Linked DNA regions of Homo sapiens: all the other regions are linked to region 1. Evidence: promoter capture Hi-C in human tissues and cell types (Jung and others, 2019). All regions are on one chromosome and are shown on one strand. The core of a region is centred on a gene start or on the middle of the fragment in contact, and the rest is flanking DNA. Distances in the headings are between cores, read along the strand shown.

The links. Contacts are between HindIII fragments. The study calls those that stand out against the background at their distance.
Region 2: a contact is called between the fragment with the promoter of ARPC1A here and the fragment with the promoter of CLDN15 in region 1, in 1 of the 25 tissues and cell types used here (heart left ventricle).
Region 3: a fragment that was not itself captured here is called in contact with the fragment with the promoter of CLDN15 in region 1 in 1 of the 25 tissues and cell types used here (IMR-90 fibroblasts).
Region 4: the fragment with the promoter of ALKBH4 here is called in contact with the fragment with the promoter of CLDN15 in region 1 in 1 of the 25 tissues and cell types used here (dorsolateral prefrontal cortex).
Region 5: the fragment with the promoter of ORAI2 here is called in contact with the fragment with the promoter of CLDN15 in region 1 in 1 of the 25 tissues and cell types used here (dorsolateral prefrontal cortex).
Region 6: the fragment with the promoter of SH2B2 here is called in contact with the fragment with the promoter of CLDN15 in region 1 in 1 of the 25 tissues and cell types used here (dorsolateral prefrontal cortex).

Annotation. Positions count from the first base shown.
Region 1 is chr7:101,235,208-101,239,818 of GRCh38, forward strand. CLDN15 (claudin 15) reads right to left here and starts at 2,595. Exons shown (of 5, transcript NM_014343.3): 1 at 2,158-2,595. The coding sequence starts at 2,374. It overlaps FIS1 (fission, mitochondrial 1), which reads right to left. Exons shown (of 5, transcript NM_016068.3): 5 at 4,265-4,611. The coding sequence ends at 4,599. The HindIII fragment of the contact is 32,734 bases long and covers 1-4,611 here.
Region 2 is chr7:99,324,013-99,328,623 of GRCh38, forward strand. It overlaps ARPC1A (actin related protein 2/3 complex subunit 1A), which reads left to right and starts at 1,886. Exons shown (of 10, transcript NM_006409.4): 1 at 1,886-1,992. It overlaps LOC105375421 (a long non-coding RNA gene), which reads right to left and starts at 1,796. Exons shown (of 4, transcript XR_927798.3): 1 at 1,502-1,796. RefSeq lists an enhancer at 1,452-2,011 and a silencer at 1,987-2,166. The HindIII fragment of the contact is 7,349 bases long and covers 1-4,611 here.
Region 3 is chr7:99,455,357-99,459,967 of GRCh38, forward strand. The region is part of intron 2 of ATP5MF-PTCD1 (ATP5MF-PTCD1 readthrough); the gene reads right to left. CPSF4 (cleavage and polyadenylation specific factor 4) reads left to right here. Exons shown (of 8, transcript NM_006693.4): 8 at 1,076-2,017. The coding sequence ends at 1,144. It overlaps ATP5MF (ATP synthase membrane subunit f), which reads right to left. Exons shown (of 4, transcript NM_004889.5): 3 at 3,791-3,907; 4 at 2,839-2,999. The coding sequence ends at 2,971. Among named protein-coding and RNA genes, the nearest start is that of ATP5MF, 8.5 kb to the right of the region's middle. RefSeq lists an enhancer at 366-1,168. The HindIII fragment of the contact is 8,805 bases long and covers 1-4,611 here.
Region 4 is chr7:102,461,502-102,466,112 of GRCh38, forward strand. It overlaps ALKBH4 (alkB homolog 4, lysine demethylase), which reads right to left and starts at 3,362. Exons shown (of 3, transcript NM_017621.4): 1 at 3,213-3,362. The coding sequence starts at 3,335. It overlaps LRWD1 (leucine rich repeats and WD repeat domain containing 1), which reads left to right and starts at 3,483. Exons shown (of 15, transcript NM_152892.3): 1 at 3,483-3,659; 2 at 4,316-4,550. The coding sequence starts at 3,580. MIR5090 (microRNA 5090) reads left to right here and starts at 4,241; the gene lies at 4,241-4,325. RefSeq lists enhancers at 3,105-3,754, 3,884-4,410, 4,034-4,133, 4,411-4,611 and a silencer at 3,264-3,693. The HindIII fragment of the contact is 23,818 bases long and covers 1-4,611 here.
Region 5 is chr7:102,430,868-102,435,478 of GRCh38, forward strand. It overlaps ORAI2 (ORAI calcium release-activated calcium modulator 2), which reads left to right and starts at 2,708. Exons shown (of 4, transcript NM_001126340.3): 1 at 2,708-2,794. RefSeq lists silencers at 475-769, 2,168-2,307, 2,338-3,117. The HindIII fragment of the contact is 14,608 bases long and covers 1-4,611 here.
Region 6 is chr7:102,284,744-102,289,354 of GRCh38, forward strand. It overlaps SH2B2 (SH2B adaptor protein 2), which reads left to right and starts at 2,125. Exons shown (of 9, transcript NM_001359228.2): 1 at 2,125-2,351. RefSeq lists silencers at 1,443-2,022, 2,093-2,632 and enhancers at 3,783-3,872, 4,543-4,592. The HindIII fragment of the contact is 12,688 bases long and covers 1-2,777 here.

The sequences.
Region 1 (4,611 bases), core at 1,345-3,844:
GGTTTCTTCCTGGAGTAACAGGTAGGGGGCAGCGGTGCTGTACAGCAGAGGGCCTAGGGCAGTTTTAGAGACAGGGTCTTGCTTTGTCGCCCAGGCCAGAGGACAGTGGCGCCACTACAGCTCATCACTGTAGCCTTGATTGAACTCCTGGATGCAGGCGATCCTCCTGCCTCAGCCTCCTGAGTAGCTCAGGTTACAGGTGTGGACCACCACACCCGGTGGAGTTTCTGACCTAGGTGGAATCCTGGGCCCAGGACCGATCCAGGTCAGTCTAGCTCAGTCTTTCAGTGCCTCAGTTTCCCTTTTCTCAGAGCTGGAGGCTGCGGGCTCCCTCTTGCTTCCCCCTTCTCCTCCCTTCTCTGTCTTTGATAGTTGCCAAGCATTCCAAGGACCTTGCACCCCTTTCCCGGGTGGGGCATAACTGTTGGTGCTGAAGGGGAAAGGCTGGGTCCCTGCCAGGAGATGCAGGGTGCAGAGTCGGGGGGTAGGCAGGAGGGACAAAGTTCTCTGGGAGCACTTTCTTCCTCCCAGCCACTCCCTCTGGGGCTGACACGAGTCTGAGTCCCCAGGTGGCTCTAGCAGTCAATGGAGAGATTATGGAAGAGCCCAGGGGCACATGGGCTGCGTGGCCAGGGGCTGGGGTGCACGGTTGGGAGACGCAGTCAGGTCCCTCTCCCAGGACCACCCCAGCCGTGGAGTCTGAATGCCGGCTCCCCTCTCCTGCCTGTGTGATTCAGGGTGGGGTGCTGCACCTTGCTTCTGTAAAAGTTTCCCCCTACTTCCCCACTGTGGAAAAATGTAGGCAGAAGCACCTAGCCCAAGGCCCGGAACCTGGTCACCCTCTACCCCTGTGCCCTGGGGACTCTGGCACCATCTTTCATGCAGTTGCCAGGGGTGCCCCTCTCAGGTGTGCAGGCTCACAGCAGAGCCCCCTCCTCACAGCATGATGTGTCTGGGAAGTGGGTGTAGGGGCTGCCTCCAGTGTCCCTTCTGGACACTCAGAACTCTGGGGTTCTGGCCCAAGTTGTACTCAGCTTTTATAGGGTTTTTTTTGGGGGGGGGGCCCGCCGGCCCTGCATACAGTCAGTCCTAGAGAGATGGATGAAAACAGGAAGCCTCTGCCGCTGCCTCAGGAGGGGCTGGGAGTAGTGGGGGCACAGGAGACCCACCCAGGCCCCCTAACTGCTCAGAGCAGCTCCAACATCCCCGGGGGTGAGCTCTCAAGCCCCGCTTCACAGCCAGTGTCGCCCTCGGCTCCTTCCCTGCCACACGGTGCCTGGTGAGTGGACTGGCCCTGAAGGACCCAGGAGGGCGTGCAGCGGCACCACACACAGTTCACGGTCGCCAGCGCTCAGTCTCTGGCATAGGGCAGACGGAAGGGAGACTGCCCCGGAGAAACAATGGGGCGGCCTCATCTTAGCGGGGAGCAGGGAGCGGGAAGGTGCCGCAGCCACAGAAAGAACTGCCCTGGGCCCAAAGAGCTGTTGGCTCCAGCCCTCTAAGACCCCAGAAAGACACTGTCCTGGAAGCCCCACACACCTGCACACACACCGCCTCCTTACAGCGGACGCTCAACCTGCAACTTGCAAGACGCCTCCCTTCACAGGGGCCCTTTATAGACATCAGCCGGACAAGGAGACCAGTGCCCCCCGACAGTGAGGCTGGGGAGTCTGTGGAGCCTGGAAGTTGATCAACCTCTAAGAATCCAAGATGGGGCCTCCTCCCCCTGCCCACCCCAGCAATCCCACCCCCAAAACATGCTCAACCGTACTGAGTGCCTATGTGTGTTAACATCACGCTAACATTCTGCACTTTCTCAGTCACCTGTGAACTGGGACTCTCACCCTAACCCTACAGGTGGGAGATGAAGCTGGTTTCATCATTTGCCCACAGCACAGGGCTGGGAAAGGGGGTCTGATTCTGGTGCCTGCACCTGTAACAGCTAAAAGCGCCACACTAGCGCAGGGGGCCACGTGTGGCAAGGTCTTCACTCCAGTTCTAGGCATGGGCCGCCCCCAGCACTCCTGGCTGCGGGAACTCAGACCCGCAGAGCTTAATTCAGGGCTCCCTGCATCCTCACGGAAGTACCCGCCCTCCCCTGGGGTCTCTGCAGCTTCCCCGCCGCCCTCTCTCCCTGGAGCGCTCCCCACCCCATACCAGAGAGGGCCAGCATGGACGGGAACTCCCAGCAGTTGTAGACGCCCAGGGAGTCGGTGGCACAGCTAAACCAGAGGTTCTCGAAGATGGTGTTGGTGGTGATGACGTTCCCGTGCACAGTGGACACTCGCCAGTAGCTGTTTGGCAGAGTCACCCCCAGCATCAGCAGCCCCACAGTTGCCATGAAGAAGCCAAAGGTTTCCACAGCCATCGACATGGTGGGATGCAGGACCCTGGGGGGCTGGTGCCCCAGAGAGGGGGAGGGGCAGAACCCCTAGGGAACTGGAAGGGGCTGCGGCTAAGGAGGGTTGTCCAGGCAGGCTGGGGTGGAATCAGCCTCAGCCTCTGCCTGCCTCTTCCTCGGGCTCAGGTCCGTCTCCACTTTCTGCCTCCCTCCTGCTCTGTGGGTCTCTCTGCTTCCTGGCAGGTCAGAGGAATGAGCTAAGCCTGCGCGCGGCAGCTGTTGACGAGATGGAGGGAATAACCGAAACGGGCCAAAAGTCCACCCCCTCCCCCCAGCCTCTGGGCTGCCCCGGGCTCCCCGCCCCACGAGGGTGGGGGGGGCAGACTTACCCTGGAGCCACTGACGGATACAGCCAAGGAGGGGCCCCCAAGGGAGGCACTGGGAACTGAGGGGAAGCGTCTGTCTCTGACTCAGCTTTCATTGGGGGCCAAAGAACGGAGTAAGAGGGACAAGGAGTGAAAAGATGACAGAGACAGACGTGAGAGCAATAAGGGACAGAGACGGAGAGAGAATGAACAGCAGCCTTCAGTGGTGAAGGACGGAGGAACCACGAGAACAATCTAAGATACTCAGACCAAGGGGTTGGGGCGTATGAGTCTCTTAAGGAAGATCAAGCTGGAATGAGGGGATGGGAGGGTAGGAGACCCACAGCTCTGGGCTCCATCCAGCCTGGAATGGAACTCGGCCCCACCATCCATTCACCAGGGAACTCAGGCGGGGAGTTTTAGTCCCCTGAGCTTCTGCTCTGTCAGTGACATACCCGACTGCTTACTGCAGGGGCTGTGGTGAGAACTGGGACCAGGGGCCGGGCGCAGTGGCTCTCGCCTGTAATCCTACCACTTTGGGAGGCTGGGCTGAGACGATTGCTTGAACTCAGGAGTTCAAGACCAGCCTGGGCAACACACTGAGACCTCGTTGGGACCAGGGAGTCAAGCCCCCCACACATAACCAGCGCTTGGCACCGGGAACTGTCCTGGATGTGAGTGTCACAGGGCTGAGGCCACCAGGGAGTCGCTCTCACCCAAAACTCAAATTTCCTCCTAAGTTGATCTTTGACTCAGCATCGAGCCTGGTCCTGCTGGCCAACAGCCTGGAGCGTGATCCTGTGGCTAAGCTCTGCAACCTGTTCCCAGTTATCAGGGACTGTCACCCACTCTATTCGTTAATGATGATGGATTAGCAGCCTCTGGTCCCCATCCCGAGCCAGTGCAGAGCACCTGTCCCAGAGCAGACACTCTCATCTCCTGCTCCGGTTCCCTAGGGCTCTGTCCCTGGGGGCCATCAGCGCTGGCTGCGCACCTCCCTGGCCCCACGGCCCTGCTGGGCTTCTCCGGCCTCCCCTCAGGTGTCTCCTCCCTACTCCTGTGCTGGCCTGGGCTGTGGAACGAGAGGTATGCGGTGAAGCAAAACAGGCCCATGCCGAGCCTGGCACGAGGGGGCGAAGCTGGCTAGGTGGGGCTGAGTCCTGACCTTCCAGCCCACAGGCGAGAGCTGGGGCTCCCTGGGCTCTGACCTCTCCCGGGACCCCCGCCTACTCCATGCCAGATGCAGGATTCCTTCCCCTACTGGGCTCCCCCTCCCCCAGAGGAGGAGGTAGGAGGAAGGGGAGGCCACAGGAAGACAAAGGGAGGGGAGGGTGGGGAGGAGGAAGCCAAGGGGGCCTGCTGTGGAAAACTCCACAGAAGTAGCTGAGTGGGTCAGAGGAGAATGCAGGCCTGAAGCCCGGCCTGGCCCCGAAGTTCTGCCCGCCCATGCTCAGGTCACTGCCTTCTCCCAGGACTCTGGGACCATGGAAAAGCCCCATGTCTCCGAGCTGCCCGGCACTCTCAAGGACATGGCTTCAGGAAAGGGAGGAAGGAAGGGTGTGGGCTCTGGGCTGCGGGGTGGACAAAGAACCCCGTGCCAACCTGGAGGGCAGGGGCAGGAGAGGACCAGGAGTGACGTCTCCGCCCCCTGTGCCCAGCGTTCAGAACCCACCCCTCCCCTCAACGCAGACACGGGGGTTCCCAAGCCACAGCCCCGTTTTATTTACACTCATCCCAAAGCACATGATGGGGCTGAAGGACGAATCTCAGGGGAGCAGAAATTAGCTGAAGGCCACAGAGGATAGAGACGGGGGGCAGGGGGAGAACAGGGAAAGGACAGCGAGGATGGACAGGCCCTCCTGGAGCGTTCTCCGTGGGCTCCCGCGTCTCCTTCAGGATTTGGAC
Region 2 (4,611 bases), core at 636-3,135, 1.9 Mb before region 1:
GAAAAGGGGGCAGGGGCTAGGGGAGAGGGGTGGGGTGGTTTTAGATCATCAGGCATTAGATTCTCATAATGAGCATGCAACCTAGATCCCTCGCATATGCAGTTCACAATAGGGTTCACTTTCCTATGAGACTCTAATGCCCCCACTGATTGGACAGGAGGCAGAGCTCAGGCCGTAATGCCAGAGATGGGGAGCGGCTGTAAATACAGATGACACTTCGTTGGCTCGCCCTGCTCACCTCATGTGCCAATGGGTTCCTAACAGGCAACAGACCAACACCCGTCAGCAGCCAAGGAGTTGGGGAACTCTGCACTAACTCCAAAGAACATAGCGGGTCTGGCAGGGCATGGTGGCTCACGCCTGTAACCCTAGCACTTTGGGAGGCTGAGGCAGGCGGGATCACCTGAAGTCAGGAGTTCGACACCAGCGTCGCCAACATTGCAAAACCCCGTCTATACTAAAAATACAAAAATTAGCCGGGCATGGTGGCGCGCAGCTGTAGTCCCAGCTACTCGGGAGGCTGAGGCAGGAGAATCGCTTGAACCCGGGAGGCGGAGGTTACAGTGAGCCGAGATCGCGCCACTGCACTCCAGCTTGGGCGACAGAGAAAGGCTCCGTCTCAAAAAGATCACAGCGGGTCTGAAATTGAGAGTTTGACAAGTATACCTACATAAACCTCACCTTACAATACCAAAGGGAAGGAGACAAGCCCTTGGTTGGCCTGGCATGGCGCTGGGCGGCGGCGGGGGGGAGCTCACATCGCTTTGGGAAGCAGAGGCTAGAGGATTGCTTGAGCCCAGGGGTTCAAGACCAGCCTGGACAACATAGGAAAACCTCATCTTTACAAAAAATATAAAAATTAGCCAGGCACAGTGGCTCACACCTGTAATCTGAGGGCTTTGAGAGGCCAAAGAGGGACGATCGCTTGAGCCCAGGAGTTCAAGACCAGCCTAAGCAACACAGCAAGACCCTGTCTCTACCAAAAAATAAAAATTAGCCAGGCGTGGTGGTGTGCACTTGTAGTCCCAGCTCCACGGGGGGCTGAGGCGGGAGGATCGCTTGAGCCCAGGGGTTCCAGGCTGCAGTTAGCTATGATCGCGCCACTGCACTCCAGCCTGGGCTACAGGTTGAGAACCTGTCTAAAAAAAAAGAAAAAAGAAAAGCTCTCGATTAGCCCCATCTGTGGGGGCTGGGGATGCTCCAGAATTTCTAGGGTTCAAGGGCAGCAGCCTGATTGCAGGTGGGGATCAGGGCATTTCTTGGAGGCTGCATCTGCGGGGCAGGCTCTGTCCTCTGTGAATTGGGGGCCTTGCCAAGTTCCCCCAACCCTTTTATCCCTGCTGCGCCATCTTGGGAGCAGGGAACTGCTTGGGAGCAGGGGATTCTGTCCCAGGAAGGGTCGAGAAAGTTCCTGGGGGGCTTCAGGGGCTTTCCACAGAGGGAGCACGGCGGGGGCGGAGGCTCCCTGCAGGGAGCAGCGCTGAGGTAGACTGGCTCTGACCTTGGCTCTCTGAAGGGAGAAAAACTTAATCGTTCTTCAGGTCCAAGAGCTCCAAAGACCCCCAATCCTCAGTAACTCATCTCCTGACAAAAGACCTTGCGAAACTGCCAAAGCGCCACACTTCGGCTCGCGATTGTGAGGAAATTGGTTGAGGAACGGAGTGGGACGCCCATGCCGCTTCGCCAGCACTTGCCAGGCGTTCCGTGGGGCAGCATCTCCTCTGAAGGGCCGCCGACAGTACCACGCCAATGGAACGGCGTACCCTCCTCCACTGCAGCCTGCCTAACCCCGGACTGCGCGCCCGAGCTGTGCGCATGCGCGGACCGTCCGCGCGGTCGCAACGCGCAGGCGCCGTGTCCACTTCCGGGATCTGTCAGCCGCTCCCTCTGGGCTTCCGTCCTCCGCCCGCGCCCGACGGAGCCTGTTCGCGTCGACTGCCCAGAGTCCGCGAATCCTCCGCTCCGAGCCCGTCCGGACTCCCCCGATCCCAGGTAACGGCCAGCAGGGGCGAGCGTCTCACCCTGTCGGCCTCTCTTGTCCAGGCCTGGCGCCGGACTTGCCGCGGGGGCAGTGAGACGGGGGCTCAGGCCGCGGGGCCCCGAGGCTGAGGCGCGGCCGGGTCTCCCTGCCGGGGCCTCCTGAGGGGGCGGGGATCCCCTTTCTCCGTGGATCCCCTGCAGCTTTTCTCAGGATGTTCGAGCTCCTAGCCGCCTCCGATGCCCGAATTAACGGCCCCTTCTGCGCCCCCAGGGTCCTACTTGCACCTCTGCTGGGGGCATTTGTCACCGTCTCTAAAATTGTGTCAAGTAGGAGGATCTCCCGTAATCGAGCGACCCGCGGGACTATTCATCTCTTTAGTGTCTAGAGTCGATCCCTGCATACAGTAGGCGCCCATAGGATGTTTGCCTGCTCTCTAGGGCAGCCCTCAATCCTTCGGTTAATGGGGAACCTTCTCGATCTCGAGAAAAACCTTCTCCCGAGTTCTTTTAAGATTTCCCTGCATGAGTACCGCCTTCCCCCAAGTCAAAATTGCACCCTTCTCGGCGCTCTTATTCATTTAGTGGAATCTTTTATGCCAGTCCTGGCACCACCACTTTGTTGAGTGATCCTGGGAAGATGCTTCTCTGCGCCTGTTTCCTCATCTGCAATAAAAAGATTCTTACCGTTTTGCTAAGAATCAAGTGAGCTTATTTGCATAAATTGCTTAGAATAGTTCCTGGCCGAGAGTAGGTGATCAATAAATATTAGCTATTATTACTGCTTCTGGGCATTCTATGCATATCCGTCTTCCTTTCCTTTTCTATCTCCTCCACTCTCCCCAAACACCAACCCTCCAGACTTGAAGACCAGAATGGTGTCAGCCTTATTTATGTTTCTAGCCCCATCCCGGTATTTACAACACTGCTGGGAACATGATAGGCACTTAATCAGTTATAGCTTAGAATCTTTGATTATAAAGCCATCTGTTCTCCTGCAGCTTTGGAACCTTCTGTCTATGTCAACTCGTAGCTTAAATTGCCGAGATTATCTTAGTTCTGCCCTCTCTCCTCAATTTTATCTAGTCTTGTGGTTTCACATAGGGCCTGGGTTTTCAGGTATCTAAAAACAGAGGAGGGGCATCAGTCAGGAAGGTGTTTTTGTCCTGTTAGGGAGTGGGTAACTGTGGTTGTTGTCTTCCTTTTTTTTTTTTTTCCTGCAGCCTCGACCTCCTGGGCTTAACAGATCCTCCCACCTCAGCCTCCTGAGTAGCTGGGACTACAGGCGTGTGCCACCACACTGGGCTAATTTTCATTTATTTTTATTTACTTATTTTTGGAGATAGAGTCTCACTCTGTCACCCAGACTGGAGTGCAGTGGTGTGATCTTGGCTCACTGCAACCTCCACCTCCTGGGTTCAAGCGATTCTCCTGCCTCAGCCTCCCGAGTAGCTGTGACTACAGGCATGAGCCACTGCGCCTGGCTAATTTTTTTTTTTTTTTTGTATTTTTTGTAAAGACAGGGTCTCCATATGTGGCCCAAGCTGGTCTGGAGCTCCTAAGCTCAAGCTATCCTCCCACCTCGACCTCCCAAAGTGCTGGGATTTTGGGTGTGAGACACCACACCCAGCTTATATGGCTATTTTCTCCCACAAAGTATTCAGAGATCTTCTGGAGTTCATCTGTTAATCACAGTTAAAGGAAGGGACCATTTCGGAAAACTCCTATTTTGGACGCGGAGTGGTGATACTTTGATCTAGTTGTCTCATCCAATGCTGAAACAAATCCTATATAAAGAAGTTTAAAATGGTCTGCTGGTGAGGCTGGTGCCTGGACTGGAGCCTGTCTGAATGTTGAGGAGGGTGTGGTGACCTTGTTGGAGTACTTGATGTTGCTAGATTGGCTAATGAGAGTGATTAGGAACTAGGTGAATCACGGTCTTGAAAACTGACCCTAAACAGGGGACAGAAATGCCCACTTTTGTGGGCATTTTCAAGCTCCAAAGGAGTAGGGCCAAGAATTTATAGCATATGTCAACGTTTCCAAGCTCAGAGGAAACTAACTGGTGGGTTCTATGGTTGGTTTAAAAGCCTTGAGTTGGCCAGGTGCAGTGGCTCACGCCTGTAATCCCAACACTTTGAGAGGCTGAGGCGGGTGGATCACCAAGGTCAGGAGTTTGAGACCAGCCTGACCAACATGGAGAAACCCCGTCTCTACTAAAAATACAAAATTAGCCAGGCATGGTGGCACGTGCCTGTAATCCCAGCTACTCAGGAGGCTGAGGCTGGAGAATCGCTTGAACCCGGGAGACGGAGGTTGCGGTGAGCTGAGATCACACCATTTCACTCCAGCCTAGGCAACAAGAGCAAAACTCCATTTAAAAAATAGAAAAGCCTTGGGTCAAAGGGAGAAAGGGAACCTGCTGGCATGTATTTCAGGCTAGGCTCTGTACTACTTGCTTTCACATGTCTCATTTAATTCTCCTTGTGATCTCAGTGGTATATCCACTTTACAGAAGAAAAAAATGAGATTTAGAGATATCAAGTGACTTGCCCAGGGTTTCATAGCTAGTGTGTGTCAAAAGCCAGGGTTCAAACCCAGCCTCGGCTTCAGAGCCCATGGCTAGCCATACAT
Region 3 (4,611 bases), core at 1,133-3,632, 1.8 Mb before region 1:
ATCGGCAGCCTCTCCATACAGAGTCACACCTGCAGATCAGACAAAGTTGAAAACACAGGGACAGCTGGGTGCGGTGGCTCACGCCTGTAATCCCAGCACTTTGGGAGGCCGAGGGGAGCAGGTCACAAGGTCAGGAGTTCGAGACCATCCTGGCCAACATAGAAGAAAGAAAACAGGAATTGCAGAGCCAGGGAATAGAGCTGGCAAGAGTGTTGGGTGCCAACTGGGCAGAGCCCCTCAGGGCAGCAGGGACTCAGGGGTGGGTGTCAGTACAGAGTCAGTGCCCCCAGCTGCCTCCTGACCCTTTTGTTCAGTGCTTGAGGCTGCCGTTTTAGGAGTCATAGAGTAAAGAGAAGCTATGGAAGGGCCTGGATAATCAGGACTGGGATGAGGCAGGGTCAGGGCTGGATTTGTCATGTGGCTCTGCAGGCTCCCCTTACCCAAGTCTAAGCATCGTCCCATCTCTCTGATCCTGTAATCAAAACCTGTCCCCAAGGTAGCTTAGGTGTGTCACAGCCACGAGGGAAAACGTTGGGTACAGCCCACCCTCTGTCCCCAGCAGTGGCTCCCCAAGGGAGGGGAGGCTGGGACACTTCTGATGCTGTTCCCTCCCATCTCCTGCCAGGGAACCCCAGACCTTGGCTCAGAGGTAAGTGACTGGCCTGTGGTGCAGAAGGGCTTGGTCCCCAGACGGGGTGGCGGAGCTCAGGTGCCACGGGCTTCTCTTTGTCCTGCTACCCACTTGGGAGTCCCTCCCTGGGCAGGCCATGTGTCCAGGTGGGAGAGTTGTGGGCCTGAAAGAGCAGGTCGCTAGCAGGTCGCCTTCTGGCGGCCTTGTTCTCCCTTGCATCTGCGGAGTTGCTGGCTAGTTTCTGCACCACTGCACTTTCCATCCTGAGCTCCCTCACCCTCTAATTTGAAAGAAACTCTGTACCACTGAGAATTTCAGAGTCATGTCCCGACTGGGGACTTGGTGGATGATTTGGGATTTGGTGGGCACTCCCTTAGTTGAAAACTGCATTTGAACAGTGTTGTTGTCTGTCTCTCCTCTTCCCCCACTTCCTGCTGTTCCCAGTGTGGCGAGAAAGGACACTACGCCAACAGATGCACCAAAGGGCACTTGGCCTTTCTCAGTGGACAGTGACAGCAGCTGGAGCCAGCTCCGAGCAGCCCGGGGGCCCCGCTGTTGGGAGTGTGCATTTAACTGTTTCATGCGCTTGTTGGCGCGACTGTGGCTCGAGCTGGCCCGCAGACACGTGGGTTTCATCACTCTGAGGGGCCACGTCTGTTAGTTTCCTATCATTTTGCCTTAGTATTTTTTGAAAAAGGGACATGTGTCCTGTGGGTCCCTGCAGTCGACATCATGTTTGGCTGGGCATCGATGCCTCCTTTCTGGGACTCCCGGCACAACTCCCCTCATCCAGGGAGGGAGGCAGCTGCTGGGGAGGGGCTTGGCTAGGTAGTTCTGTGTGGCGGTGGTCATTCCCCTCATTAAACACCAGTTCTTGGTGACGCCAGGGGCTGGTAGGTCATTCAAAGCTGTGGCCAGCTCACGCCTGCTTCCTCCCTCCCTGCCCTGCTGAATCCTAAAGCTGTGCCTATATCTGTGATTTGAATGAGGGAGCCCTTTGGGGCAAATTCAGGTGCCCCCATTGCCTCAGGCTGGCCCTGGTCCCAGGTGGCAGCGGTTGAGGAGGGGTACAGGGCTCTCAAGCCTGAGGTTTTCTTCTCTGGGCTTAATTTTCTCTTGGGGTACGTGCCTGACAGTGTTTAAGGTGTCCGTTGAACTGGAGTTGCAGACTTTTAAATAGATGACCCCTTCAGATCATCTGTGCCTACCTCCTGCCCATCAGGCGTCTACACTGTCACTCAGACACCTGTGGCATGTGGAGGAGACTGCCCTGTCCTGAGCCTGGAAAATGTGAAACTGTCTCCTGCAACCTGCTGGGCATGTGGGCCTGGCTGTGTTCAATTGCAAGAACAATTTTTATGAAATGGATTAAAGCTTGTTTTTTAAGCCATGTCTCATTAATTAAGGGTCTCATGCCAACCCTTTTACACTGGCTGCAATCACGGCGTAGCTTTCTTGTCCCTTTCAACAAATGTCAGCCTCACAAAGGGAAGTGCAGCTGCCCAGAAGGCCTGCAAGCAGCTGGTCAAGTCTGGGAGTCTGATCTGTGGAGCCAGCAGGCAGGTCCTCCACCTCAGCTCAGATGTCTGGTGGCACCTATTTCTGGGGCACAGTATCCCACCCCCAATGAGGCTCTGATGAAGAGGAAGCAGGGAGGGGCCGCCATAGCCCCTCACTTTTCCCCATCACCCCCAACCCACTAAGCCTCCTGTTAGAGAAGCCGCCTCAGCCGGAGGGCCACAATCCCTGCAGCCTGGGCGTGAGTGCTGCCTGAGGTCTCTCCAGACAGTGCCGGGTCACCTCACCCTGTAGCCCTTGATGCCCCAGGGTGATGCAGAAACACAGGATGCGGGCCATCCCTGCCTGGAGCCACAGGACAGCCGGGGTGGGATCTGGCGCTCTCAGGTACGCAAGCCTTTGTGTTACACCATAAAGGGCCAGCCAACTAAAGGCCAGAATGTCTGCAAATGCACCTGCCCACAGCACTCATGGCAAGGGACGGACTTCGGCACTGCTGCTTCGGGAAGGTCTGGATGACACCCTGCCCTCCAGGGAGCTGGGACACGACCAGAGTGGTGGTCTGGGAAGTCCACAAAGGCCTTCACCGGTCAACGGCCTGGAAAGACGACCTCCCCCCACCTTGTGCCACAGGAGCCCCTGGAACATGGGATAATGGCTACGGCAGACAGGCAGGCAATCAGCACACGTACCAGTCATGTTTTATTTGGAGGTTAATTCCTATTAGGATATGAAAGGATTCAGCAACGATTGAGATTGTGTTCCTCACGGAGGGGCTCGGGCCAAGGTCGTGGGGTGGGGGGGTGCAGAGTGTGTCCTCTTCAGTGGTATTTGCGGAGCCGCTCGTGCTCTGAAGTCAGGAAGGCAAGATGGTAAGTATCTTAAAAGGTTACAGTGAAGGCACAGCATGGCAGGAAGCAGGCTGAGATCACACAAAGCCTTCCTGAGAATTCCCTTCAGAGATGACCCATGACCCGCCTGCCGGTGTCTCTGCAGAATCAGCAGACCCGGGGGGCACAAAGACACCTCAGGAGCCAACCTGCCACCTGGCCAACCACTTTCTTTCCAGAAGGAACAGAGGGAACACACGCTCAGACAAACAGCCCCAGAGAACCCGTCCTTCAGAGGCAGGACCGCCCTGGTGCCACAGAATGGGAGTGAGGTGGGGGTAGGGGGTGTACACTACACTGTCAGAAACAGCCTAGTCAGAGGCTGCCACCGACACCTCCCGCCAATCTCCCACCAGACAAGCTCCTCTCAAGCCTCAGAGCCGGAACAGCCATGCTTTTCTGGGGTACCAGATTATCCCACTCAACTCATTTCTCTTTCTGCATTGGCTACTAGGAAAATCGAGCCAAATTTTCACAGTGTGCTGTATTTTAAAGAATGCTTCTAAGTACTCTCTTTACCCTGGCTTCATCTTGATTTTCCTGTGTTCTCTTTGTCACAATTTTCTCATTTCAAACAATATCCCACATACTGTACTCTGATAGGTCCCTCCAATTCTTTTAGGTGGAAACATAAGGAACTTTAACTAAAGGTCCCTCAGCCTCAGAAGAAGGTGGGCTGCTGTATCTAATGAAATCAGTCACCACCACCCTCTCATGGGAACTAAAGGCAAGACGCCGCAGAGGCACTCACTGAGATGCTTGTAGGAAAAGGAGTAGCTAAAGAGCACGTAGCATGCCAGCACCATGGTAATCCCCGAGATGCTCCCCTTCTTCACATTGATGTACTTGTTGTAGTACCGGTAGTAACCTGCAAACGCAAGAGGCGCTCACTGCCCTGCTGGGCTTCACATTTGAGTGAAGTTGAGCACACAGTTGAGTCTGGCTGACATTCAGGGACCTAGTCCTGCTCTGGCTGTTTAAGCCCCTCGCCCTGCATTCACTGGCTGATAAAGATGACAAGCACAAATGCCAGTAAGGTCTCTCATCCCCATAGCCTGAACTATAAGCACATACCAGCTCCTGAACTAGGCCTACCTGGATTCCACCTCTCCCCTTTGGCTGTGAGCTTATAGCCTCCTGAGTAGCTGGGACTACAGGCATGCACCACCACAGCCAGCTAATTTTTCTTGTGTGGTTTTTTTTATAGAGATGGGGTCTCTCCATATTGCCTAGGCTGGTCTAAACTCGGCTCAAGCAATCCTCCAGCCTTGGCCTCCCGAAGTGCCGGGATTACAGGCATAAGCCACCACACCAGGCCAAGATAGGCCATTTCAAATATTTGTCCTGAAGTTCTGGCAGGGAGGAGAGCATCATATTATAGACTAATGCCCACTACGGTTCCAATTCATTTTCCTCTTAAAGAAGTCTTAGGATTTCTCTAAGACAGAGGCAGACATACTGATTCCAAGCAACAGGAAACATGTTCTTGGCTGTAATATCTCAGAGCCAGCCTTTGAAAGGGCCAATCAACCACAGAAGTCCAAGGCCTAGCATCCCTCCCTGTCATCCTCT
Region 4 (4,611 bases), core at 2,112-4,611, 1.2 Mb after region 1:
AGGTGCGCGCCACCATGCCCAGCTAATTTTTTTCTTGTATTTTAGTAGAGACGAGGTTTCACCATGTTGACCAGGATGGTCTTGAACTCCTGACCTTGTGATCCTCCCGCCTTGGCCTCCCAAAGTGCTGGGATTACAGGCGTGAACCACCATGCCCAGCCAATAGTAAATTTTTAAAAAAGAGTTTCGCCAATGAAATAGCCAGTATTTGCATCTGTGGCACTGAACATTTTACATGGATTATCTAGTTTCATCCCCAGGACAGCCCCAAGAGGAAGGTACCATAACTATCATGGGCAGGAGGTGTGGAGGTTCTGGCCGGAGTCACCCAGTGAGGACTTCGGAGGCCACCAGAACTCAGCCCTGGGCTCTGTGGCCTGTCTCCTCTTCCTCTTCCATCTCCAGGCTCCTCACACCCTGGGCTGCCACTCACTGTGGGCCGCTGTCTTTCTCTGTTCTTCCCTCCAGGGACCTCAGCCCCTTCCAATGCTTTACTTCCAGCCACCGACTCCAGCTCAGACCCCTCCTGAGATTGGCACTATCTCCTCCTGCTCCTGGGGCCCTCCCACGGGAAACATTAAAACTGGGAGTCCCCCGTGTGTCGGCTGAGCAGGCTGGACTTGTCCGAAAGGCCATGGAGCGCTCTTGAAGGGTTTTAAAGGAGTGACGAGGTCAAATGTGAATTTTAGAAAGATCTGGAGGGGGGAGGGGCAGATATGAAGGGTGGAGGCTGGAAAGCCAGTGAGGAACTGCCCCAGTGCCCTGAGATCCTGGATACCTCACTCTCCTTGTTCCATAGCCATCGGGTTGGGAAGATGTCACCTCCACATGGCCACTGGAACGGGTCAGACTTTCCGCAATTTTTTTCTTTTCTTTTTTTTTGTTTGAGGCAGGGTCTCGCTCTGTCACTCAGGCTGGAGTGTAGTGGCGCTCACAGCTCACTGCAGCCTTGACCTCCTGGGCTCAGGCAATCCTCCCACCTCAGCCTCCCAAGTAACTGGGACTACAAGCACACACCACCACACCTAGCTAATTTTTAAATTTTTTGTAGAGACAGGGTCTTGCTATGTTGTCCAAGCTGGTCTCAAACTCCTAGACTCAGGCGAGCCTCCTGCCTCAGCCTCCCAAAGGGCTGGGATTATAGGCATGAGCCACCGCACCTGGCCCCTTCCACAAATTAAAACTCTTAAGTTCATTCATATTGTTGTACAGCCGTCACCACCATTCAGAACTTTTTCATCTTGCAAAACTGAAACTCTTTCCCTATTAAACAACAGGTCCCCATCTCCCCTTCCTGAGCCCTTGGCAACAACCCTTCTACTTTCTGTCCCTGTGACTACCCTACGTAGCTCACACAACAGGAATCATGCAGTATTTGTCTTCTGTGACTGCTTCCTTAACTTAGCATCGTGTCCCCAAGGTTCGTCCATGCTGTAACATATGTCAAAATGTCCTTTTTTTTTTTTTTTTTTTTGAGACAGGGTCTCACTATGTTGCCCAAGCTGGAGTGCAGTGGCGTGATCACAGCTCACTGCAGCCTTGACCTCCCAGGCTCAAGCAACCCTCCCACCTCAGCCTCCTGGGTAGCTGGGACTACAGGTACGTGTCACCATGTATGGTTAATTTTTTTGTAGAGGTGGGATTTCACCATGTTGCCCATGCTGGTCTCAAACTCCTGGGCTCTGGCAATCTGCCTGCCTCGGTCTCCCAAAGTGCTGGAATTACAGGTGTGAGCCACTGTGCCCGGCCTGTCCTTCCTTTTTAAGGCTGAATAGTATTCTACTATGTGTATGCACCACATTTTGTGGATCAAGTCATCTCTTTTTTTTTTTTTTTTTTTTTTTTTGAGAAGGAGTCTTGCTCTGTCACCTGAGCTGGAGTGCAGTGGTGCGATCTTGGCTCACTGCAACCTCTGCCTCCTGGGTTCAAGCGATTCTCCTGCCTCAGCCTCCCGAGTAGCTGGGATTACAGATGTGCCTCACCAAGCCCGGCAAGTTTTTGTAATTTTAGTAGAGGCAGGGTTTCGCCATGTTAGCCAGGCAGGTCTCAAACTCCTGACCTCAGGTGATCTGCCCACCTCAGCCTCCCAAAGTGCTGGGATTACAGGCGTGAGCCACTGAACCCGGCCCAGGTATCTTGATAGATGCTTGGTTTGCTTCCATCTTTGGGCTGTCATGAATAATGTCGTGAATATGAACATGGGTGTGCAAATATCTCTTCCAGACCCTGCTTTTAGTTCCTTTGGATATATACCCAGAAGCAGGATTGCGGATCATGGGTAATTCTATGTTTAATTCATGAGGCATGCCATGCTGTTTCCATAGGACCTTGGGCACTTTTACCATGGACGTTGGGGCAGTCTTCACTGGCTTACCAGCCTCCACACCTTCATATCTGCCCGTTCCCTTCCCAGGATCTTTCTAAAATTCACATTTGACTTCATCACTCCTTTAAAACCCTTCAAGAGCTCTCCAGGGCCTTTGGGACAAGTCCAGCCTGCTCAGCTGATGCACCGGGGAGCATCTGTGATCAGACCTCCCCCCCCCCACAACCTCTCCAGCCTCATCTCTCTCACCTGAGGCATCACCAATCCACCTTCCTACCCCACGCAGTTTTCTGGGTTGGAATGCCCTTGCAACCAACCACAGTCCTTCCATGCCAGCCCAAAGGCGCTGAGTTCTTTTTCTTTTTTTATTTATTTTCTTTTTGTGAGACAGAGTCTCGCTCTGTCGCCCAGGCTGAAGTGAGGTGGCTCGATCATAGCTCACTGCAGCCTCCAGCTCCTGGGTTGCAGCGATCCTTGAGTTCCTTTTCGTTAGTTAACTGGAATTCACTGTCTCCTTGCCCATTGCAGTCCACGGCCTTCAGGCACCGTTGGACTGGTATTCAGCACCCTCGATCGACCCTTTCCGTGTCATCTCCCTGCAGGCCCGTGAAGCTCCCAGCGCCAGACCCGAGAGGCTACGTCGAGGTTTACAGGCAGATCCCCCCAGAGTCCCCGAGGTGACCTGTAATCGAACCCACCCACGTTCCAGCTCCTTCCCCACTCCCAAGCCCGCTCCTTAAAGCCCTCATCTCCTCACCCTGCATCACCCCTACCGTAAGGGTCCCTCACAGGCTTCGATCCCGGCCCCTATCATGGCCAAGCTGGACCTCAGTTTCCCCAGATGCAGAGCGACGTTTGTGGGCGCGGCCCCTCTCCCACCCCTTACCGCTGGGGGCAGCTCCCAGGGCGGGTCACTGCCGCGCTGCCGCTCGCAGATCAGACAGGTCCGGATGCCCTTGCAACCGCATTCCCGAAGGACTTCGGGGGTCTCGGCGGCAGCCGCCGCCATCGCGCCGTCCGCGTGGCCAGTGCGCAGGCGCGGCCGTGGGGGCCGCTGGGAGTTGTAGTCCGCGCCGGGCGGGGGCACGAGGCCTGGGTTCCGCTTCCTTCCGGTCGTTAACGCCCACGGGCTCGCGCGGCGCCGCCTCCTGGGCTCAGTTACCGCGGACGCCAGTGCCGGGCTCCAGGAGACGCAGGGCGACGCCACACGCCGGGGTGGCCGACTGGGTCAGCGCGGGCTGCGCCTCCTCGCCATGGGCCCCCTCTCGGCGCGGCTGCTAATGCAGCGCGGGCGCCCCAAGAGCGACCGGCTGGGGAAGATCCGGAGTCTGGAGTAAGAGCCGGGCAGCGGGTGAGGCTGTGTCCTCGGGGCCGGGCGGTCGGGGAGAAGAGCGGGGACCCTCCCCAACGGCCCGCTTGTCCCCGTTATCGCCCTCTGGGTTCGGCAGAGTGGTCCAAATGTCTTCTTGTTGGGAGATCGTGGCCCCACCCGCTCGCCGGGAGCCCCGAGGGGCCTCATCCCCTGAAGGGAGCCCGGACAGTTAGGGGCACAGCCTGCCGCTATCGTTAGAGGGCCTGGGAAGCACAGACGAGCCCCCGAAGGATCAGGAAGAGCATCCTAGAGGGGGCTAGGATGCCCCCGAGTCCTAAAGTAGTTGCAGCTTTTTTTTTTTTTTTTTTTTTTTTTTTTTTTTTTTTGTTAAGTGGTGTGGAGTCGGGAGTAGTGGCGCGCGCTTCTAGTCCCAGCTACTCGAGAGGCTGAGGCGGGAGGATCCCTCAGCCCAGGAGTTGGAGGCAGCTGTGAGCTATGATCGCGCCTAGGCGACTGAGTGACACCCCGTCTCTAAAAATAAAGTAACGGGGGGATGGGCGGGGCGGCTACACTTGTACGAGAAATGTCAGGTGAAAAAGCCTTCTGAGGTACCCGGGGCAGATTGGTGTAGGGTGCAAAGCCTGCCCGCCCCCTAAGCCTTCTGCCCCCAACTCCAGCCTGTCAGGATTGGAGCTGCTTTCCGAGCACCTGGACCCCAAACTCCTGTGCCGCCTGACGCAGCTGCAGGAGCTTGACCTGTCTAACAACCACCTGGAGACGCTGCCGGACAACCTGGGCCTGTCCCACCTGCGTGTCCTCCGCTGCGCCAACAACCAGCTGGGGGATGTTACTGCCTTGTGCCAGTTCCCCAAGCTCGAGGAACTCAGCCTGGAGGGCAACCCCTTCCTGACGGTAAGTGGGAGCCTCCCACCAGCTTCATACCTGGGGCCAGGACTCTGTTGGGCTCAGGCTC
Region 5 (4,611 bases), core at 1,458-3,957, 1.2 Mb after region 1:
TTCTGTGTTTGGTTAGGAAACCAACTCTGCAAAGCACTGGCAATTACAACTTGCATTTTGCTTCTGTCTGGGCATGCTGGATAAATATGCCTGTGGGGTGGCGGCATCAGTAACGGGCACAGGAAGCTTTCTCAAGGATGAGTGAAGTCGCTGCAAGAGTGAGAATTCAACAAGCAAAGGACTCCTTTGCTGAAAGCACATTCATCTATGATGCAAACTACTGCGTTTACAAAGTGTTTTCTTCCTGTTTTGTGTGTGTGTGTGTGTGTGTGTGTTTTGAGACAGAGTCTTGCTCTCTGGCCCAGGCTGGAGTGCAATGGTGTGATCTTGGCTCACTGCAACCTCCGCCTCCCAGGTTCAAGCGATTCTTCTGCCTCAGCCTCCCCAGTAGCTGGGACTACAGGCGTGCGCTACCATGCCTGGCTAATTTTTGTATTTTTAGTAGATATGGGGTTTTACCAGTTGACCTGGCTGGTCTTGAACTCCAGGCCTCAGGTGATCAGCCTCCCAAAGTGCTGGGATTACAGGCATGAGCCACCGAGATTCATTTTACCAAGAACTCCACGTTGGAAAGCCATAACATGATTGCTTTTTGAGGACTTTACCCCTGAAATTCAAATGTTCCCTCACCCATAGCCATTGATGGGGGTGGCAGGAGGAGGGCCAGTAAGGAACCCTGGGATTTGCTTATGTCCATGTTAGGGCCTAACTTGCCTTTTAGGTCAGTAACCCGGAGGGGGAAACCTGGTTTATTAGACTAAGTGTCCTCCTGGTTTCATTCTGGCTGTCAGCAGTAGCCTGTAAAAGACAACTCGAAGTGTAGATGGATTTAACCTGGCGTCCGTAACATCTACTCTTCCAATTGTCATAAAATGTGGGCTGGCTGACATGAGTGGAATTTTTCCTTCGTTTGGATAAATGTGTCACGGTCCAATGCTGTTGTGACAGATGGAAAAATCCTATGTAGGGCACGCAGCAGCCTACCCGGCATGGAGGAAGGACTCCAAGGGACCGTCTGGCACCGCCGGGCTGATAGGAACCCATCTTGTCTGTCTGTGAATTATTCATGTGCTGCACTTCCTGAAAAGAATGCTCCTGTTTGACTGCCTCGCTCGTAAAACCGCAGAGAATTCACCGTTAAAGGTGAGAGGCTCCCTGCAGTAGGGAGTGGAAGGGGCCAGGGCACAGCAGAAACTCTTTGCTGCTGTCTGCGAACAGCATGAGAAGGACAGCACGCTGCACTGAAGTTGGGACCCCAGGGGTCTCGCTGGGTCTGTGAGTGGCAGTGCACTCTGGGTGGCAACCCCCAATTAGCTCAGTGCAAGCTCTTCATGGTGCCATCCAACACCCTGGGCAGGGGCCAAGCAAGGTGGCCCATGCCTCTATGCCCAGCACTTTGGGAGGCTGAGGTGGGAGGATCACTTGAGCCCAGGAGTTCGAGACCAGCAGAGGCAACATAGCAAGACCCATCTCAATTTTTTTAAAAAATTTAAAAATTAGCTGGACATTGTGGCACATGCCTGTAATCCCAGTGCTTTGAGAGGCTAAGAGAGGATTGCTTGAGGCCAGGAGTTTAAGACCAGTCTGGGCAATACAGGAAGACTCTATCTCTAAAAAAAGAATTTTTTTTTTTTTTTTTGGCTGGGCACAGTGGCTCACATGTATCATCCCAGCACTTTGGGAGGCCGAGGCAGGCAGGATCACCTGAGGTCAGGAGTTCAAGACCAGTCCGGCCAACATGGTGAAACCCCATCTCTACTAAACATACAAAAAAGTAGCCAGGCTAGTGGCGTGCACCTGTAGCTCGGAGGCTGAGACAGGAGAATCGTTTCAACCCCGGGGTCGGGGGTTGCAGTGAGCCAAGATGGCACCACTGCACTCCAGCCTGGGTGACAGGGCAAAACTCCCTCTCAAAAAACAAACAAAAACAAATTTTTTAAAAACTACCACGGTGTGGTGGCTCCTGCCTACATGTAGCCTCAGCACTTTGGGTGACTGAGGGCAGAGGATCACTCGAGCTCAGGAATTCGAGGCTGCATTGAACCGTGATCGCACCACTGCAGTCCAGCCTGGGCGACAGAGCCAGACCCTGTCTCAAAAAAATAAAAAAAAAAATCCTGTGAAAACTCGGGCGTGGCCAGACGGATTCTCCCCTCCCCACCTTCCTTTCCCCTCCACTGCCCACCTGCACCCGCCCGCCCTGTCCCCACTCCCCGCCCCTCTACGCAGCCAGCGTCCAATGCTGGGCACCCCCCGAGGCTCACCCTGCCAAGCCTGGGGCTCCCCTTTTGCGCCCGGACCCAGGGGCAGGGAAAGCCCAGCTCGTGGTCTGTGGGTAGCCGGACCCCCGATGGGGCGGTGGGGGGCCTCGCCTTGACTCCCAGAGCTGGGGCCGGGGACAGGAGCTGGGGCAGGAGGGATGCGCGCGGGTCGGGGTCTTCCCACCTCCCCTGCTCCTCTCCCTCGCGCGATCCCGGGGTGGTTCCAGGTGAGGCGGGGACCCCCACCCCCCCACTCTCCGAGGAGGCGCCGCCAGCCCCGCCCCTCCCGGCCCGGCGGGTGACGTGGCCGCGGCTCTCCCGCGGGTGGGTCACGTGTTGGCGGCGCCTGGTTGCCTTGGCAGCGGCTGCGGCGGCCGCGGGGGCGGGGTGGAGGCGGGGCCGGGGGACCCCGCGCGACCGGCGGAAGGAGGGAGGGGGCCGCGCTCGGCGCCCCGGCCGGGCCACTGGGCCACAGGCCACGCGGCCACGCAGTCCGAGCGGGAGCCGAGCCGGGCGGGGCGAGGGCAGCTCCGGTGAGTGTGGCGGCGCGGGGGCCTGGCGCGGGGAGCGGGGTCCCTGCGGCTGGGGGGGCCGGAATTGGACCGGGGACGCTCGGCGGGGAAGGGGACGACTGTAGGCTGCCCGGGCGCGGTCACTACCCATCCGGGGTTGGTGACCTCCACCCCGCGGGATCCCTGGCGGGGTGCGGCGCCCAGAGGATCAGGGTCGGCGGCGCAGCCGGTTCCGGACACCGGGGCGTCCCTGGGGGAGGGACAGGGATGCAGCCTAGCGCCCCTGGGAGGCCCCCTCCCAGTGCGCCTGCTGGAGAGAGACACTCGCCATTGCCGGTGCCCCAGATGCTTAGAGGAAGTCAAACTCCAAGACCGCCCTCTGGAAATGTGTCCAGTAGGCCAGCCAGGAAGAAAAGCTCATCTCTAGAGAGGGGATCGCGTTATTCTACAAGACCTGTTTTCTCGGACTGCTCATTAAAGCAAAAAAAAAAAAAAAAAAAAAAAAGCAACCCCACAAGGTTCAGTCCCGGAGCATCCTCTAGGGTCTGTGCCACCTGACAGAAGTACAGGGCTCCATCCTGCCCCACCCCACCCCCTGCCTGGGATCCAGTGTGAGGCCCAGACTCTGTCCCTCCCCCTGGGCCACCGGGCCTGGCACACACAGTTGGCATTGGGAACATAAAGGATGGATTTGAACCCCCTCCTGGGCTGCTCCTTCGAGACCTGGAGACCTGTCTCAAGACCCAGCTCCAGGCAGACAGACATCGTTTCCTCCACAATCCCACCCACTCTGGGGACATCTGCAGGGCCTCACCGATGGGGCATGGGAGGCCTGGCGGCTCCCAGGAAGCCACCCTCAGCCCTCACTGCCCTGAGCTCTTCACCTCCACTCTCAGACCTGAGCCCAGCCCACCCTTACTGATGGGGCATCCCTCTTGTTCACCCTTCCTTCCTTTGGAGGCCACCAGGCTCTCCCTTGCGTCCCACTCCTGCCAGTCGGCCAGCCATTTCCCTGGGTTGAACTGTGGTCCCAAACCAGAATGATCTAGCAGTGCCCAGACCGTTCCACTCACCAATTTCTTCCATTCTCCTGTGGCTGGACGCCCAGTCATGCTGCCCAGACCCTCTGGCTCATTCCACAGCCCCAGGCTCCAAGTGTCTTCCACCCACATCTCCCTGCCCCCTCCACCCCCCAGGTGGCAGCCAGTCTTCCCTCCATATCTCCTGGACAAGGAGAGCCACCCCACATGTACACCTGGAGTGGCCTTCCCGTCTCTCGGAATCCTTCCATGCAGGCAGCATCTTGTCTTTGAGGAAAGGTCCCTCTTTTTTAAAATTCTTTTTAGAGGCCAGGCGCAGTGGTTCATGCCTATAATCTCAGCACTTTGGGAGGCCAAGGTGGGCGGATCACTTGAGCTCAGGAGTTCTAGACCAGCCTGGCCAACATAGCAAAACCCTGTCTCTACCAAAAATACCAAAAATTAGCCAGGTATGGTGGCACACACATGTAGTCCCAGCTACTCGGGTGGTTGAGGCGGGAGGATCGCTTGAGCCTGGGAGGTAGAATTTGCAGGGAGCTGAGATTGTGCCACTGCACTCCAGCCTTGGTAACACAGCAGGACCCCATGTCAAAAAAAATTATTTTTAGAGACAGCGTCTTACTCTGTTGCCTAGGCTGGTCTCCAGCTCCTGGCCGCAGGTGATCCTCCCACCTTGGCCTCACAAAACACTGGGATTACAGGCATGAGGCACTTTGGCATGCAAAGGGCCGCTCTGTCCCCTCCCCGGTGTTACCTGCAAGCACCTTTTCCTGGCCTTGGTGTGAGGCAGCCAGTCCT
Region 6 (4,611 bases), core at 875-3,374, 1.0 Mb after region 1:
TGGGTCTGGAGTGGGTGCATTAACTCATTGTCCAGCTGTCACAAGACTGGCTGCAAACCCAGGTCCCCCACTGCAGCCCACCAGGCCAGGGTCCCCTGTGCTACCTCTGTCTCCATTTTAGTTCTGAACAGTCTAAAGCATGTGTATCCAGGGGCCTTTCTTTGGGGTCCCCGTCCCAGCACCCCTCATCTCCCCCATGAGGACTTCTTCCAAGCCCCTCAAGCCTCCTGCCCTCAGGGACCCAGGATGGACCTTTCCTCCCTGACCTTCATTCCTATCCCCAGCGAGGCGACAGCTGCTCTTGGCCAACCACGCCCCCTCCACCCCCACAGCCACTTCCACATCTCCATCAGTTCCTCCTTGTGGGTCCGAGGCGCTCTGCCGCCGGCCCCTCCTCACTTCTTCCTCCCTGGGGATGGATCCAAGCTATTGTCCTGCCCATGGCTTCCCATCTCAGGACCCTCTCTGGCCGCTATCATCCCAGCAGTGGAGTTCAGCCCACTACTCTGAACCAGGTTAGTCCACCGCGGGTCAGGCTCTCCCCTCTCCCAGGAGGGTGGAGACCACAACCAGGCCATGTATGGAGCTTCCCTTTCTCCCACTCTCGGGCACCCCCTCCTCCCCCTTCCCGGCCTCATTCATAGGTGTCCTGGTTCCCAACCAGGCGTGCAGGCCTGTGTGCAGCTCCGATCGAGGGCTGGCCCACTGCCGAAGCTTTCATTAAAGTGTCTGCTGGCCTGGTCCTGCGGAGGGAACAGAGCCGAGATGTGGGGCAGGGAAGGGGTCTGCCTGTCTTCCGTGCCCCCGTGGAGGGCAGCACCGGGGTTTTGGGCAGCAGGTGAAGGCTCTGTCCCCTCCACCTTCAACTCTGGAAGCCCCACCTTTCCATCCCTAAGAAGGGTTTGATAAAAACCCTTGTCTGTAAATTAGAGATGGGAAATGGCTCTGGGAAAAGTCAGAGGTCAGTTTGGGCCCGGGAGGGCGACAGATGGAGGCAGCTCCGGCTGGCAAGGAGACCAGGACAGAACTGCCAGAGGTGGGGGCAGGGGACAAGGAGGGAGATGAGGGGAGAAGACACCCAGGGGTCCCCCCCTGCTATCTCCAGGAGCAAGACTACTCTCTTCTCTGAGCGGCCCTTTCCACACCTCTGCCCCCACCGAAGCCCTCCCTCCCCTCTCAGACCCCTTCCAGGCCTGCTGAGCCCCCTGCACCTCTTTCAGGAAGCCTCCCAGAGCCCCCGCGCTGTGCCCTCAGCACCAGGGGTCAGGCTACAAATGCCCCGCAAAGCCCAGCGGGACTGTTTCCTCAGCCCCACTGGTCTCTGCCCTAAAGCAGGCGAGTTCTGGAGCCAGGCAGGGGTGAGGAAGGTGCCAGGGTTGTGGCCCCTCATCGCCCCTCTATGATCTCTGACACCTCTCCGGGTGGCATCAGGCCCCCATCACAGCGAAGGCTGGGTGGTGGGGGCACTGCGCTCAGGGGGGCCGTCCCGCCCTGTGGCCCGGGGGCGATTTCCCGCACCGGAGGGCTGCAGGGAGGGGGCGTGGTGGCGCCCTCGAGATTTATGAGAACCAGGCGTCGACTTCCTCCGTTGCGACATCCAGGCCTCCTCCAGGCTCCCATTGTCCCTGCTGCGGAGAGTCTGGCCACAGCGGCGGCTCCCGCGAAGCACCCGTCAGCGAGGGGCGCTTCGAGGGCGTCCGCGTCCCATACACCCGCCACGCAGGACATTCCCCCGGCCCCACGCTCCGCGCTCCCGGGGCCACCACCACCGCGGGCTCGAGGGGTGGCCTCCACGAGGAGGAGTGGGAGTCCCGCGCCTGGCCTGGGGCCGGCTCGGCGACATGGGGACCCCCGCCCAGATGGGGCGACTCGGAGCCGGCTCCTAACCCCTCTCTCCGGGCCCCAGGACCGGGCAGTCTCGGCACCGCAGCTGCGGGGAGCCAGCAAGCACCGGCCACCGGCGCCGCTCGGGCTCCGCGGATGGCCGGGGGCGGGGCCTGAGCGGCGCAAGTGGGGGCGGGAGGGGGCGGGGCCAGGACGCGCGAGGGGGGGCGGGGCCGGGGCTCGCGGCGGGGGCGGGGGCGGGGCGGGGCCGGGAGGCGCGCGCCTCGCGGGCGGAGGGGCGCGCCGCGCTGGGGCTGGGCTTGGAGCGCGCGGAGCTCGGCTGCCAGAGAGCCGCGCGGGGGACGCGCCGGGACCGCGAGGAGCGCAGGAGCCTTCGAGGCGGTGAACGAGGGAGGGAGCCCAGTCCGCCGCGGGCCATGAGCCACCGGGCCCGGGGAGCCCGGCCGCGGTCCGGGCAGCGCTCAGCCGGCGCCCCAGCCCGCTCGGCCGCAGCTGCGCGCCTGTAGGTATGGCCTCCTTATACCCAGTTCCTCGCTCCCTGGTCCTTCCCCCGGGACCCCTGTCTGTCCCCGGGGACGTGCGCTGTGTGCGCACCGCTGCCCGAAGGAGAGCGGCCGCACGCGCCTTGGTCCGCGCGTGTCGTCTTTGTGTGCGCGGGTGGGAGGGAGGAGGGCGCGCGAGGGAGGGGAGGCGCCCCCGGCTGGGATCTGCTCCCCGATCCCCATCCCGGGCGGGGCGGGGAGCCGCTGGAGGGGCCGAGCCGCCTCTGGAGCAGCTGCGCCCCCGCCCCCTGCTAGGGCCCCGGCCGGGTAGTGGGGCGAGAGCAGCCGGGTCCTTAGAGGAGGGGTCTCTGGTTGGGGGAAGGGGTGCCCAGGTCTCTTCCCTACGCTGGGAGCGCTGGGAGGGGGCGTCAACCTAGAATGAGGGTGAGGGCCACGGGATGGGATCGGGGAGGACCTCCTCCAGGCCACAGGCACGCCCTCCCTTTGGCCCAGGCCCCCCTTTCTCGACCTGCCCAGCCGGGGAGCTCCCCGGAGCCCCCGATTGCCGGGAGGATCGTGGAGGGTGCCCAAGAGGCCGGCGCCTTTAAGAAGGGGCGGGTTCGTGCCCTCCATTCAGGCCCTTGGGCCTCGGCCATTGATGAACCTGCGGGCTGCGCGGGCCGGAACCGCGCCAGCCCAGCGGGCTGAAGCCGGGCAGAGGCAGGGACGCATCCTGGCCCCCTGCAGCCCCGAAGTGGGGGCCTTCAGGGAGGGAAGTCTGCAGTGACTGGAGCCTCTCAGGAGCCACGCAAGGCAGACCGGGCAGCCCCAGGCGAGACTCTGAACACGAATAAGCCAGGATCTACGTGCACTTCGAGCTAGTGCAAGGGAGAGCCTCAGGCTAGGCTGTCAGACCTGGGTGGAGCCCTACCAATGCCCCCGAGCCAACATCACCTACCCTGTAAAATGGGATGGTGCTGCCTGCCTCCTGGCTAAGGGACCGGCAACTCCCGGCAGGAATTGCGTCCCAGAGTCAGGTCCCTGGAGCTCCTCTGGGAGGACTGGGGGCAGGGGGTGTGGTTTCCCCAAGAGGTTTTGACTGCCTCTTGAGCTGAAGCCCCCACTACTGTGTCCCACCTTGAACTCTCCCAACCTCTTCCCTCCTGGCCTCCCCACTCCACGCAGGAAGAGGTTGGGAGAGTGACCTAGAACTTTTCAGCTCCAGGAGCTTTGGGAGAGGTCTGGTGGTGGCGGTGGTGGCACTTCTTTTAGGCTAGTGTGGATCAGGGCATTTTTGGGGGTCTCAGAGACAGTTTCCCACCAGCTACTTCCTTAGAGGTCTGTCCTACCAACATACAAGAACAGCCCCACCCCGTGGCAGGCCGGCTTCTGATGCTGCTTGGTTGAATGCTTCTAGGTAATCAAGGGTTAATGCACACGCTTTTCTTTTTACCCTTGTTGTGAAAAATCTGTCTGAAGTTTCTAAATCCCTCTTCCCTACTTAGCGTGAATCTCCTAGGGAGGACTTCTATACAAATACCCAGGGGTGGGCTTCCCTTGGGGGTCTTGGAAGTGGGATCTCCACCCAAGTGATCCTGGGCCTCCCAGGGCTGAGCTTTTGGTTTCAAACTTACTTGTGCCAAGCTAAGGGCATCAGGATCGCCGTTCGTGTCATCTTTACAACAATCCTGTGGGTTTAGTGCTATTATTATCCCCACACACTTAGGGAGGGGAAGTGACTGGCCCAAAGTCCCGCAGTCAACGAGCCAGGCCTCCCAACCACTCCTCTCTGACAAGAGGCTGGCACTTCTTGCCCTGCCTACCCAGCCTGGGTTGCAAGGAATTGGGGGTTTAGGGGCTTCAGGCCTCCTGGCTGCTGTCTTCCCGGGGCTACGCTCATTCTTACTGTCCAAGTGAGGCCAGGGGACTGGTCAGAGCCCTGGGGCCTGGGGAGGTTTCTCTTCCCTGCTCACCTGGCTGGGTGCCGTTTTATGGCTATGCTCTGTCTAGGGGGATAGCAGGTGTGACCCCTCAACACGAGGTCACAGCCCACACCTGTTTGGGCAGAGCAAGGCAGGGCATCGCTGTGTGGGCGTGCAGCATCTTTTGGTTCCTCTGGGTGAAGCAGGGTTTGGGCCCCATTCTCCACATACTTCCGGGCCATCTGAGGGTAGCGCCCACCTGGGGGGTGGGGAGGACAACCAGCCAGGAGCTCACGGTTCGGTGGAAGAGACAGGCCACAGCCATGTGGTGTGGTGGAGGGGCAGGGGGCAAGGGTGGAGGT